Regions from separate parts of the Homo sapiens genome. Here region 1 is linked to region 2. Evidence: promoter capture Hi-C in human tissues and cell types (Jung and others, 2019). All regions are on one chromosome and are shown on one strand. The core of a region is centred on a gene start or on the middle of the fragment in contact, and the rest is flanking DNA. Distances in the headings are between cores, read along the strand shown. Region 1 holds the start of MIR1914 (microRNA 1914). Region 2 holds the start of EEF1A2 (eukaryotic translation elongation factor 1 alpha 2).

Evidence for each region. Contacts are between HindIII fragments. The study calls those that stand out against the background at their distance.
Region 1: a fragment that was not itself captured here is called in contact with the fragment with the promoter of EEF1A2 in region 2 in 2 of the 25 tissues and cell types used here (aorta and lymphoblastoid cells).

Annotation. Positions count from the first base shown.
Region 1 is chr20:63,939,018-63,941,717 of GRCh38, forward strand. It overlaps UCKL1 (uridine-cytidine kinase 1 like 1), which reads right to left. Exons shown (of 15, transcript NM_017859.4): 9 at 2,093-2,191; 10 at 1,933-2,026; 11 at 1,777-1,839; 12 at 1,577-1,699; 13 at 1,361-1,468; 14 at 1,133-1,289; 15 at 812-1,038. The coding sequence ends at 959. MIR1914 (microRNA 1914) reads right to left here and starts at 2,527; the gene lies at 2,448-2,527. The HindIII fragment of the contact is 6,155 bases long and covers 1-2,700 here.
Region 2 is chr20:63,497,648-63,500,347 of GRCh38, forward strand. EEF1A2 (eukaryotic translation elongation factor 1 alpha 2) reads right to left here and starts at 1,436. Exons shown (of 8, transcript NM_001958.5): 1 at 1,411-1,436; 2 at 1-187. The coding sequence starts at 116. LOC124904955 (a long non-coding RNA gene) reads left to right here and starts at 635. Exons shown (of 2, transcript XR_007067719.1): 1 at 635-976. RefSeq lists enhancers at 445-1,240, 1,501-2,070. The HindIII fragment of the contact is 29,943 bases long and covers 1-2,700 here.

The DNA of each region.
Region 1 (2,700 bases), core at 116-2,615, 440 kb after region 2:
CTGGCGCCTGAGAGGACGGGGACGACCGTGTCCCGTGTCAGATGCGCCTGGCCCACGGCTGAGTCCCCAGCATCAGCCCTCAGCTCCACGGCTGAGCCCCGGGAGGCTGATTCAGTTATCTGGGCCTCTCCGGGGCCCGACGTGTGGGCGCCGCGCGTGCACCTCCTCTTCCTCAGTAAACCACGGCGGCGACTCCTCTCGGGGAGCCCGGGGGGGGCCTGCTCGGAAAGCAGGGTGGGCAGGACCTAAGGGAACCCACGCTTGCGGGCGTGGGCACGGCAGAGAGCACGGGATGCGGGTGGGCCTCCAGGTCTGGAGGGGTGAGCGAGGCGGGCCCTGAGCAGCAGTGGCTCCGGGCTCGTGGGCCCCGGGTGGCCCCGCCTCCAAGCGCAGGCCCCCACTTCCGCCCTGGTCTGCCTCCTGGCTTTGCTGCCTCCAGCGACTTGTCCTGACGGGAAGGACCCTCCCCCCCCCCAACTGTGGGGAGGACCCTGATGGTACAAATTTGTGGGTGGGGGCAAAACAGCCTGCCTCTTGTGAGACCCAGAGCACCAGGGGGCCCTGTCCCCTCCCTAGGTCCAGGCCAGGTGGCCACCAAGCTATGGGTTCTAGGGGCCCCATCTAGCAGAGCTAGGAGCTGCAGGGCCCAGTTCTACCCCTTCCTTCATCTGGCACAAGTGCAAGACTGGGAATGCTTGGTCCTGCAGGGGAGAAGGCAGGGCCCTCAGCTCCCTCCCTCCCTCCCCATGGGAGTCTCCACAAATGCATGCCTCAGCCAGGACACCTCTCCTGTGCTGTAACCAATCACACCTTCATTTTTCTAAAGCTTTATTTATTTTATAAAATGCATAGAATAAATTATACTAGTAACATTTTAAAAATTAACATCTTTGTATTCAGCAGTCCTGGGTCAGGAGGCAGGAGGAGGGTGGTGGGGACGGGATGGCTCACTGGGCAGCTAACCCGTGTAGGCCACTTCCTCCTCGTCACTGCCATCGGGGACCGCGTCTGTCCCAAAGTAGCGGTCGCCAAAGTTCCCTGGAAAAAGGGGGGGGGGGGTCCAGTGTGGTGGGGCCTCCCAGGGCCACCCACCCTGCCCTCATGTGCGGCTGAAGGGCCCGGGCAGCCTCACCAATGCCTGGGATGATGCGGAAAAGGTCATTGACCCGCTTGTCCACCGCCGTGGTGATGATTCTCACTCGCGGAAATGCATAGGCCACTGAGTGCACGCCCATCTCTGCCATGAGCAGCGACAGCAAAAAGATCTTGTCCTCAGGCACGTCGTGGTCCTACCGAGTGTATTGGGCAGGTAAATCCCACCTCTGCCTGAACCTGCCCCGCCTACCCAGGGCTCACTCACCAGGAGCACGCGCACTGCCATCATGGCCGCCGCGCCCGTGGACACGGTGCAGTCCATGAGGATCACGTGGTCATCGCTGATGTCCTTGGGCAGCCTCAGGTAGTGGAGCTGCGGGCAGCAGGGGTCAGGCTGCAGGTGGGGCTCCCTGCGTCCCCTTGCTGTGAGCTCCCTCTGCCCCCTACCCCCGGGCTCATCACCCCGGCTGCCCCCAGGCACCTCGGGCTCCCCGGTAAGCTGGTTGGTCTGGATGAGGATGGTGCCGATGCGCACGTCTTTGCACACAGCGCGCAGCGCGGGCTCCATGGTTTCACCGGCGCGCAGAATGGACACACCGGTGATCTGCGGGGAGGGGAGGCTAAGCGCCCACATCCCGCCCCAGCAGCCTGTCCCGCGCCCAGGTGTGCCCAGGCAGGTACCTGCTTCCCCGCATAGCACTTGCCCGCATAGTCCTGCCCCTGCGGGGTCTGTACGACGCAGTCCTGTGGGGTGCAGGGTGAGGACTCCGGTGAGCGCAGGGAGCTCGCACCGGCTCCAAGACCCACCCTCCACCTCGCGGGCTACGGGCTACGAACCTGAAAGGGCAGGAAGGAGAGCGCGTGCTCGATGAGCAGCCGCATCAGTCTCTTGGAGTAGAAGATGAACTCGTCGCGACTGGTCTCCTTGTCCCTGTGGGGCCAACAGTTGAGCGGGAGCACGCGCCCGGGGCCGCCCCGTCCCCAGGTGGGCCCTCACCTGATGATGGTGTGCATGCCCCGTACCTGCGGCGTGCTCTTCAGGACGCTCAGCGTCCGGGGCAGCGGGTGGCACTGGTGTGCCGAGGCCAGCGCAGCCCTGGGGACAAACCGATGGGGAACACTCAAGAAGGGGGTCTTTTCCCAGAGCCCTCCCTCCCCACAGGACGGCTGTGCGTCACTGTGAGGGGAACACACGGGCCAGGCACAGCACGAGGTGCAGAGCGGGCCTGACTTCTGCCTGGGGCTGAGCTGGGGGGAGACGTCGCCCTACCTGAGCTGTCAGGCAAAGGCGAAAGATGGCGGCGAACAACGGGGCAAGCTCACCATCAGGCAGAAAGCTAGCGGGGTAGGCTGTGAGGGCCCCTCCCAGTGCGGGACCCCTCCTGCGCTAAGAGGAAGCAGAAGTGGGCCGGGCACAGGGCGGGCTCACACGTGCTGATAGGTGTCATACCCCAGAATGGGTAGCTTGTCCCCAGCCTCTCCCCGGGGGAACTAAAGCTTTGTGGGGTCAGGCCCCGCCCTGGCTCCTCCCCGAGGTGGTGCGCGGCCCCTCAAGAGAGGGGGGTGGGGGGCAAAGCTGGCTCAGTGTCTCTTGGCTGTCCCGTC
Region 2 (2,700 bases), core at 186-2,685:
ATGGTCCTTTTGTCAATACCTCCGCATTTGTAGATGAGGTGGCCCGTGGTGGTGGACTTTCCGGAGTCCACGTGGCCGATGACCACGATGTTGATGTGGGTCTTCTCCTTGCCCATTTTGCTGGGAGTGTGAGGGGCTGGCGGGACCCGGGGTGCTCTGGCTCAGGGCGAGGGGGGCTGCAGTGATTCTGTGGGGCCAGTGGTGGTGGGGAGACCGGTGATGGGGAGCCCCAGGGGGAGACACCAGCAGAGACTGTCCTGGCACAGGCTGGACAGGCATCCCTGCCCACAAACCAAGCCCCCATGTTTGGTGGGGAGGGAAGGGCCCCCACCCACAGCTGGGCCTGGCCAGGGCAAGCAGAGGCTGTGCACTGCCCCCACCCCACACTTGAGCCCAAACAGCCCCATCTGCTGTAAATAACTGGGCGTTGGAGCCCGCGGGCTGCTCCTTGGGAAGGGGTTAGCCACCATTTGGAGAGACCACGCAGCGCCAGGCTGGGTACGTCCGTGACCAGCAGAGCCGGGTGATGAGTCACCTGCCCAGCGCTCCAGGGCCCTGTCCTGCACGCGCACTCCCCTCCCCGGCGGCAGGGCCAGGGACACGGCGCCCCACCCCCACCCGCTGCCACCGGGGAGAGATGGCCACTGCTCCCCACTCCCCTCCTCAGGCAGGGACGGCGCCATCTTCCCCTCATCCCTGCCCGGCAGGCTGGGCCAGAGCCCCGACGGAGATGCGCTGCCCAGATTAGGAACCCAGAATAGCTCTAGGCACCCCCCTCCCGGACTCTCACAGGGACAGACAGCGGCCGGGAGGTGGGGGTCCCTGTTCCAGCCTGAGGAAGGAGGACCCGGCCCTGCCGAGCCCAGCAAGTGCCAGGTGGAGATGCCCTCGGCCCCGTGGGGGTATAGGGGGCACCCTCCCTCCCCCCCTCCCTGTGACTCAGGACCCTGGGTCACAGCCCTGTCCCATCACAGAGGTCAGTGGAGAAACCCACGCTGCTCCTCGCGGACAGGTGGCTGGGGGAGGGAAAGAGGACAGAAGCCACCCTGGGGTGGGAACACGGGTGGGGGTGGGGAGGCCAGGGCCCCCAGATCTCACCACCTCCCTCAGCGTCCTCTGGCCCAGCGCCCCGAAGCCCGACCCCCATCAGCCCCCGGCCCGCAGGGTCCCCGCGGCCCCAAGGTCACGGCTACGGGGCGATCGCCGCCCAGGACCCGGCCCCGCCGCCCCGCGCCGCCCCCCACCCCGGGCCCAGCCCGGCCGACGCGGGGACCCCCGGAAGCCGGACTCCGGGCGCGCGCGGGGGCGGGTGCGGGGCCCGGCCACCCTCTGCCCCCCAGGACCGGCCCCGGGGGTCCCTCTTCGGAAGACGGGGGCGGGGGCGGAGGCCCGGGGGCCGAGCGTCCTTACCCGGAGCCGAGGTCTCAGCCAGAGGGACTGGCGGCGCCGGCGCCGGCGGTTTTATCTCCGGGAGGGGGTCCACCTATTGACGGTGGCGGCGCAGTGCACCGCGCCCTGCAGCACGCCAATGCGGAACCGCGCGGGAGGGGGCGGGGCGCGGACGCGCGCGGGCGGGCGCCACGGGGACGCGAGGCGATGCGGGAGGCGCGGGCTGCAAAGACGGACGCGGGAGGCGGGGGAGAAACGCGCCGCGGGCGGGGGCGGGGCGGGGGGCAGGGCAGGGAGGCGGCGGGAGGGAGGGACCGGGACGGAGACGGCGCGGGGAGAGCGCGGCGGGCCCGGGAGACGGGGCGAGAGCCGGCTCAGGGCAGGAACACGCTTGAGCCGCGAAAAGCGGTCCCCGGGGACAGGGCAGACGCCGAGGACCGGAGCCGGCAGGCGGGGGAGGGGAGCAGGTGGGCTGCAGCCTGGGAGACGAGCCTGGGTCTACCGGCCCCTCCCCGGCCCTGCTCATGGGGGACGCCCCAGAACCAACGAAGCCCGGCTCTGAGGGGCTCTCCCTAATGAGGCCCGGGGGTGCAGGCCTCAGGGTGGAAATCTGCTGGTTTCCAGTCCCTGTCCTCACGTGCCTGCCCTCCTGGGCGCACCATGACAGGCCCCGAGGATCCAGCGCAGAACCACCCTCCCCCTGAGAGGCTGGTCTCCCACGGTGCAGGGAACGCCGGAAGCCCGCTCCCAGACCCACTGACATCTTCCAGGGACCCTCCCCTCCGGGTGCGCCGACCTCCGGCTGCTGCTGGGAAACAGCGCCAGCCAAGGGCGAGTCAGATCCAGACAGACCCAGGCCCCCCCGCCCAGCGCCCCACCCCGCTGCACCTCAGCGCCTTGTAGCTGATGCTCATATGGGGTCAGGATGCCAAGCCAAAGACCGGGCCACGCTCTGTAGGAAGTGGGGAGTCCCTGAGGTCCTGGCACACGCGGGTAATGACCAACGTGGGTTGTGAGGAAGGGGATGTGGCAGCCATGTGTTGTGTGAAGACCAAGGTTAGGGGCTTTCTCCAGACCCCAAGATCCTGTCGTCTCACCCAGGTATTCAGGTCTTCCCTCCCACGCTGCCCCCCCACCCCCACGCACTCGGATCTTCCTGCCAGCGGGGTCTCGGGAGGTGTGTGCTGAGTGGGGGCAGAGCCCTGGCACCTGTCCTCTCAGCCCTGAGTTCCCACTGGGTGTTGACATGGAGGCCCCGGGTCGGGCCCAGCAGCTGCGACTGGGCAAATCCATGGGGATCCCCAGCGACTG